Regions from separate parts of the Homo sapiens genome. Here region 2 is linked to region 1. Evidence: promoter capture Hi-C in 16 types of primary human blood cells and fetal thymus (Javierre and others, 2016). All regions are on one chromosome and are shown on one strand. The core of a region is centred on a gene start or on the middle of the fragment in contact, and the rest is flanking DNA. Distances in the headings are between cores, read along the strand shown.

Evidence for each region. Contacts are between HindIII fragments. The CHiCAGO score rates a contact against its expected background, and 5 or more counts as called.
Region 2: the fragment with the promoter of DNAH17 here is called in contact with the fragment with the promoter of CEP295NL in region 1 in 10 of 17 cell types (total CD4 T cells, non-activated CD4 T cells, total B cells and 7 more); the score reaches 14.8 in total CD4 T cells.

What each region holds. Positions count from the first base shown.
Region 1 is chr17:78,901,004-78,904,916 of GRCh38, reverse strand. CEP295NL (CEP295 N-terminal like) reads left to right here and starts at 1,716. Exons shown (of 3, transcript NM_001243540.2): 1 at 1,716-1,783; 2 at 2,991-3,132. The coding sequence starts at 3,089. All of the region lies in intron 1 of TIMP2 (TIMP metallopeptidase inhibitor 2), which reads left to right. RefSeq lists an enhancer at 1,937-2,537. The HindIII fragment of the contact is 4,047 bases long and covers 632-3,913 here.
Region 2 is chr17:78,575,683-78,579,595 of GRCh38, reverse strand. It overlaps DNAH17 (dynein axonemal heavy chain 17), which reads left to right and starts at 2,200. Exons shown (of 81, transcript NM_173628.4): 1 at 2,200-2,301. The HindIII fragment of the contact is 12,238 bases long and covers 1-3,913 here.

The DNA.
Region 1 (3,913 bases), core at 467-2,966:
CTGCCTCGGCCTCCCAAAGTGCTGGGATTACAGGCGTGAGCCACCGCGCCCAGCCTGGATGTCCCAGCTCTTGCAGAGGGAGGGTTTGCCTGCCTCTGCCTCTGTCTCTTTGTTCTGTCCGGGCTTTCAACAGATTGAGTGATGGTGCCCCACCTGGCGAGGAGGGATCTTCTTACTCAGTCCCCCGGTTCAGATGCCAGTCTCTTCCCAGAGCCACCCAGAAATCACGTTTTCCCAGCTATCTGAGCATCCCTTAGCCCGTCAAGCTGACATAAAATGAATCATCAAGGGCTGCGAAGATGGACTCCAAAAGTGGGCGGGGGTAGGGGGGTGGTGGTGGACTGTGATCGAGAACATTCCTGCAGGGAGAATGCCTCCCTTCCCTGAGTCAGGGACCAGATAACCTTTCCAGGGTCCTTCCAGCCCAGGACAAAGGGCTTTGTCTCAGGTTCAGCTCTCCTGAGAATTCATCCTCCCCGAGATTTGGACACCTCAGCCGAATTCCTGCTGTTTACCTTCTTCTCTCAAGAAACAACAACCTGAGGATTGTTGCTTTCACTTCTTCGGACCCAAATCATGATTTCCCAGCCACATTTCTCAGTTGTCAAATTTGTGGAGGATGCTGGAAGCTTCTAGTGAGTTGCTTACAGATGATCCAACTGGCGGCTTACTAAAACATATCTTGGGCTGGGGGCGGTGGCTCGTGCCTATAATCCTAGCACTTTGGGAGGTCGAGGCAGGGGAATCGCTTGAGGTCAGGAGTTCAAGACCCGCCTAGCCAACATGGTAAAACCCCGTCTCTGCTAAAACACACACACACACACATAAATTAGCTGGGCATGGTGGCATGCACCTGTAGTCCCAGCTACTCAGAAAGCTGAGGCACTAGAATCCCTGAACCCGGGAGGCAGAGGTTGCAGTGAGCCGAGATTGCGCCACCGTACTCCAGCCTGGGCAACAGAGCAAGACTGTCTAAAAAACAAACAAAAAACATATCTTGACAATGCCAGTCATCACTTTACCACAGACCTTAAGATGCCAACCACCCAGACTAGGTCAGGGGCCCCCATTTCCAGCAGCTACTCCTGCTTCCTGGAAACCCCCTGCACCGGCCAGACTCCCCCAGTGTCCCATGTTCATCCCCAGCCTCGCCCTGCCAGCTTCCCTCGCCCATCCTTCTGATCAAACTGTCTGTGGGGAACTAGCCCTCAAACGAGGCCAAGTACGTGTGGCTTCTCCTCCTGTGTGGGCAGGTGGTTGACGGGATTCTTTCTTCCCCCGCCTCCAGTGGGTTTCAGTTTAACGATGGCTTTCTGGAGCTGTTTAGAAGCGTGAACAGATGCTGTCCCTACAGGAGAAGGGATGGCAGGCGTTGTCAGGAACCCTGACCTTGAAGTGTACCTCCTTAATGGCCTGACAGCTCAGAGAGAATGACACCCTGGGAGGTCTCCATGCAGCCAGCTGGGGACAAAAAGATGTCCTCTGCCTGGTATGGCCACGAGCATTTGTACATTGCACTGTCCTTGTTCACCCACACCTCCTTAAACAGTGCCTTCAGGTGCCCCCATGGCTCCCGGCTGCTTGAGCCAAATCTTTATGATTGATCCCCTAACCTACACGCTTGCCCCCTGGCTGGCTCACAGCTGTCCCTGACCTCACCCCTGCCATGATGTCACAGCTCAACAGCTCTGCTGTTCCCATGGCAACAGCCTGCTATGAGTAGCCAGCCAGGGCAGAGGCCGGGCTGCAGGTGGAGGCGGGGAAGCGATTCCGGCCACCTTTGGTCAGTGGGCCCCTGAGACCACTGCGGGGCTGAGGCTCTCTGTGTCTGTTCCCATCTGTGGTGAGGGTGGGGTTCTTTCCATGCCCAGCTGTTTAGCGAGGCTCCCAAGAGGGCCCCGGAGAGTGGGCCAAGGAGGGGCTCCAAGCCGTGGGTTCGCAAGGCCAGCGGCAAAGTCCCTGCACCACGGGGCTCCCCACAGGCAGTGTGATGGGAAGGAGAGTGAGGGAAGCTGGTGGGACTGGGTTGGAGATGAATATGGTTGTTGGAGGAGTTGGGCTGGGGGGTCTTCAGGAAGCAGGAACACCTGCTGGGATTGGGGACCCCTGACCTAGGCTGGGTGCTTAGGATCTTGAGGTTTGCAGGGAAGCGGTAATGGACGCTGTCGAGGTATGTTTAGTGAGCCACCGGTTGCATCAGCTGTAAGCCCCCCACGTGGGGAGCTGGCGTCTCAGCTGGGAGTTTGGAGGTCAGTCTGCCTCAGTGTCTGTCTCTGTGAAGCTGGTCAAGGGGAGGCCTGAGCCCGAGCTTGCCCCCAGAGGCTGCCTGCCCAACCATCTCCACCCTGGAGAGCTGACCCAGCCCAGGATATGGATACACACAGATTCATGAGCTGTGGCCCCAGTATTCGGGTGGAAAAGCCTGCTGTGGGCCTAGCCAGGACTCATTCTAACGTGACCCACCCCTGCCCCAGGTGATGCTAACACAGCCAGTCCAAAACCCAGTGCAGGCTGGGCATGGTGGCTCATGCCTGGAATCCCAGCACTTTGGGAGGCCGAGGCGAGTGGATCACCTGAGGTCAGGAGTTTGTAACCAGTCTGACCAATATGGTGAATCCCCGTCTCTACTAAAAATACAAAAATTAGCTGGGTGTGGTGGCGTGCGCCTGTAGTCCCAGCTACTTGGGAAGGCTGAGACAGGAGAATTGCTTGAACCCGGAAGGTGGAGGTTGCAGTAAGCTGAGATCGCACCACTGCACTCCAGCCTGGGCAACATAGTGAAACCAAAACCCAGTGCAGTGGCTTGGGACCCCCGTCCCCCCGCCACCACTGGGACGTGGCTAAGAGTTGGGGAGAAGAGGGCGAAAACCAAGCCTCTGGCAGCACACAGCGTGTCATGGAGGGTATTTTTAGAGGCTAGAACTCAGAGAAACGGAGTTAAAAATGTTTCTGATGTTTGTTTTATCTGGGCTTGGTTCGGATGCCTCCAGTGATGGGCGTCTCACTACCTACAAAGTCAGCCCAGTGATTTCAAGACAGCCCTGGAGACAGTGCTTCCTGCCCTCCTGTCAGCTTCTGCCTCCCTGTAATGTGTTCTGGGTGGTCTAGCTCAGTCATCTGGAGACACACACAGTAAGTACCACCCCTCTTCCCCAAGCATTTCAGGTGCTTCTCGTGGTGACAAGCACTGGCATCTCTGTAGATGGGTGCTGCTGTTGTTATCATCCCCATCCTAAAGAGCAAACTGAGGCACCCAGAGTGAAGTCGCTTGGCCTAGGTCACATAGTACTCTTAAGCACCATACTCTGCCATTCTAGACTTTTCTATCCTTTGCAAACACCCTTGCCCCACCTCACCTCCTTTGGCTTTTCTTCCTAGGACCTTTGGTCAGTGGGCCCCTCCTGACCAAAGGAGTTCATTCTCCTCCTGGACTCCAAGCCTGCGGCCTCTTCTCCCCGTCCTTACCGCCCTCCTCCTCTCCCGAGAACTGTCCAGGAAGACACACCTCTCCCTCGTTCAGATTTGCTCCTTGTTCTTCAGCCCGTGCATCTCCTTTAGGTCTTGAACAGTTCTGGACAGGTTTATTCCTGATCATTTCATCACGGTTTTATTGATTTTGAAACTTTATCCCGTGACATGATCAAATTGGCCATTTCTAGAGCACAGGCACTTCGTAGCTGTTGACCATCATTTAGCTCCACGTCTGCCCGTCGGTTCCTCGTGCGTGGAATCCAGCACCACGTGGGTGTCTCTGCCGAGCTCTCGGCATTTCCTGAGCCCTCCCGGAAGCCAGACTCTGTTCTCGGCGCTTCACACGGGCCGTCTCGTCTGATGCTGTGGCGTCCTGCAGGGTGGGAACGGGCGGTGCCCGTGGACGTGGCGCTGTGCCTGCCGGCGTCCTGGGCACCACAGC
Region 2 (3,913 bases), core at 951-3,450, 330 kb after region 1:
TTTATCAGCAAGCTCTTTATGACTTGTGCTGAACCCCCGTCTCACCCTGTGACTAAGAATGCCTTCACCTCCTGGGAATGCAGTAGGGCCTTATTTTACCCAGACCCCATTCAAAATGGAGTGGCTCTGGTTCAAATGCCTCTGACGGCCCCATTAAAAAATAAATTCCTATTCTCCCTCCCTAGCCCTTGGCAACCTCCATTCTACTTAATGAATTTGACTACTCTAGGGACCTCATTGAAGTTCATTTTACTTTGATTTGCATTTTCCTAATGGCTAATGATATCAAGCTGCTTTCCATGTGCATACTGGTCATTTGTGTATCTTTCTTGAAGAAATATCTATATCCTTTACTCCTTAAAATTAGGTTGTTTTATTGTATTACGACAAGTCCCTTGTCAGATATATGATTTGCAAATATTTTCTCCCATTCTATGGGTCATCTTTTCCCTTTTTTAGGGTGCCTTTTGAAGCATAAAAGTTTTTGGTTTTGATGAAGTTAAACTTATCTTTTTTCCTTTGCTCACTTATGCTTTTGGCATCATATGTAAGACATCATTGCCTCATCTGAGGTCAGATCAACTCCTGTGTGCTCTTCTAAGAGTTTTATAGTTTTAGCTCTTACATTTGGCTCTTGCATTCTGTTAATCTATGCTGAGTTAATTCGTGTAGATGGCGTGAGGTAAGGGCCCAGCTTCGTTTTTCCGCATGTGGGTATTCAGTTATTCCAATACCATTTGTTGAAAAGGTGATTCTTTTCCCATTGAGTTGTCTTGGCACCTTTGCTAACTCAATCGTCCATAAATGGATGCATTTATTTCTGGAACCTCAATTCTATTCTAGTGATCTCTGTCTATTGTTATGCTGGTAGCACTGTCTTGATAACTGTAGCTTTGTAGTGAGTTTTGAAATCAGGAAGTGTGTGTCTTCAGACTTTGTTCTTTTTCAAAGTTGTTTGGATGGTTTTTGTTCCCTCATACTTCCCTATAAAATCTAGGGTCATTTCTACAAAAAAGGCAGCTGAGAGTTTGATAAGGATTGTGTTGAATCTGCAGATCAACTTGAGGAGAACTGTCGTCATCTTAACAATCTTCTTTTTTTTTTTTTTTTGAGACGGAGTCTCACTCTGTCTCCCAGGCTGGAGGGCAATGGCGGGATCTCGGCTCACTGCAAGCTCCGCCTCCCAGGTACATGCCATTCTCCTGCCTCAGCCTCCTGAGTAGCTGGAACTACAGGCACCCACCACCACGCCCGGCTAATTTTTTTGTATTTTTAGTAGAGATGGGGTTTCACCGTGTTAGCCAGGATGGTCTCGATCTCCTGACCTCGTGATCCACCCGCCTTGGCCTCCCAAAGTGCTGGGATTACAGGCGTGAGCCATCACGCCTGGCCCGTCTTAACAATCTTCTAACCCATGAACACAGCATGTCCTTCCATTGATTTAGGTTGTCTTTATTTCCATGATGTTTTGCAGTTTTCAGTGTACAAGTCTTAACACTTCTTTTTAAAGTTTATTCCTAAGTATTTTGTTGTTTTTGACGCTATTGTAAACGAAATTATTTTGATGCTGTTGTAAATGGGAGTTGTTTTCTAAATTTCATGATCAGATTGTTCATTATGGGGACAATTGTTTTCTAAATTTCATCATCAGATTGTTCATAATATAATTACAGAGAAATATAATTAATTTTCAAATATCTTGTATACTGCAAACTTGCTGAATTCCTCTATTAGCTCTACAATTTTATGGATTTCTTGGGATTTTCTACATACAAGATCACCTTATTGTAAACAGAGATAATGTCTTCCTTTCCACTTTGGGAGGATTGCTTGAGGCCAGGAGTTTGAGACCAGCCTGGGCAACAGAGTGAGACCTCATCTCTACAAAAAGTACAAAAATTAGCCAGGTGTGGTGATGTGCGTCTGTTGTCCTAACTTCTCAGGAGGCTGAGGGGGGGGGATCACGTAAGCCCAGGAGTTTGAGGCTGCAGTGAGTTATGATTGTACCACTGCACTCCAGCCTGGGTAACAGAGCGCGACCCTGTCCCCCCTCCAACCTCCCCTCAAAATGATCATCTAAGAGCCTTTCCACTGTGGGGTGACGGTTGGTTCCTCATTTGCTGCGCTATCATTGGTTACTTGGGTCCCAAGGGGAAGGTTCTAGAAGCCCCAGGTACCGTGAGGAGACTCCCAGAAGTTATGTGGCAGTTGGAGCCCCTCGAGGGAAGGGAGCCATTTTCTTTCCTGGTTTGGGAAAGAGTTGCTCATCAGTTTGCGGGAGAAGCTGTTTGCCTTCAGCTGGTGAGCGGCCTTCAACCATGCTGGGGGAGTCGGAGGCCAAGGTGGAGGGAGCAGGGAGGCCTTCAGAGGATGGAGGTGGGACCTAGGCCCTGGCAGACAGCAGACCCTCCACTTACCCCAGAAGTGGCTCTGCTCGCCACCGGGAGCTGTTCATGGCTCTGGGACCCCGAGGCTGGCTGCCACGTACCAGCCTGACCCCTTCCAGGGCTCCAGACTCTTCCCTGCTCCTGGGAAGGCCTTGCCTCAGCCCCCTGGCTTCTCCTGGAAGCCCCTAGCCCCAGCTTCCTCCTGTGGAGTCCTGAAGGCCTGGGGCATGGGCCACCTCCCAGAGAAGCCGTCTCTGCCCCTCCGGAAGCATGGCCTGGGACAACCCTATTGTTAACTGGGACCTCCTGGCCTTCAGCCCAGGAAACGGCTGGGTGGGAGCCTGAGATGAGACCTCCCGATCGTGCAAGAAACTTGCGGGGTGTAGGGGCCCCTCAGCCCACACATGTTATGGCTTGGGAGGCAGCCCACCCCATGCCGTTCTTGGAAGAAAAGATGACTTTGTGAAAGCCCAAATCCACAAAATCAGTAAACCAGAGGATGTTTCCCTCCAGTCCAGTCGCCTGACCAGCTTGGCGAGACTTCCAATCAGGAACCTTCCAGGACTCGGGCTCCCCTGAGTTCCTGATCCCCCTAGGAAATGACGACGTGACGCGTCCCCGGGTCTCGGAGATCCTGGGTGGAGATTAATTCAGCAGCATGCTGAAAGCCCTGTGGGAACCTGGTGAACGAGTCATCTCCATAAATGCCACGCGGTGCTCCTCCTACTTGCCTGGTGGTGTCCCCTTTTTCTTTCACAGATGTGCCTGAATCGGGTGGCTTTGCTCGTGGACCGCCATGTTTCTGCCATTTGCTGGCCAAATATTCCCCAAGTCCTCTCTCAGAGATGTTTGGAGCCTTGAATAAATCTCAGACCATTTGAATAGCATCCAAATGCTATCCACTACTGCTTCCCATCATATAGTTGTTTTGCCGATATATAGTGGCCAGGGTGAAATAAACCTGTTCCGTGGTATTACGTGTCTTTTGGGGAACTGTAGGCTGTTACAAACTTAAAAGCAATAGCTTGGGTCAAACCAAAAGGCAGAATTTGTGAGTGCTTCCAACGTCATCTGTCCACCCTGATGCTTTTCAGCAGCTGCCAGGTCTGGAGCAGGCCAGCCCCAGCCCACGGACCCCCAGAGCAGCTGAATACCCCAGGGTTCCCCTTGAAATTCAGGAGCTGCATACCTCCCAGATTGTGATGAAAACACAGCATCAGGCGACCCTTTGCATTCAACCCTGCCCTTGCAGAACTCGCCTCCAAGGCCCCCACCTCAGGCCTCTTGCCAGAGCCTGTCTTTATTTGAAACTTTGGTATTTTGTTCATAAATTTGTTTGCATTCATTTTGATGTTTAAAAATATTGACATGCCTTTTCTCTTGATGACTGTTTGGGTGTGTCTTTAAATTCTGTAAGTACCTCACTTGCCTAAACTTTGGGACTTCAGGGTGTTCTTTAAGGGGATCCCTTCCCCCCAATTCTCTAGTTAACCCTACCCCCGAGCATCTGAGCAGCTTGTGAGGGG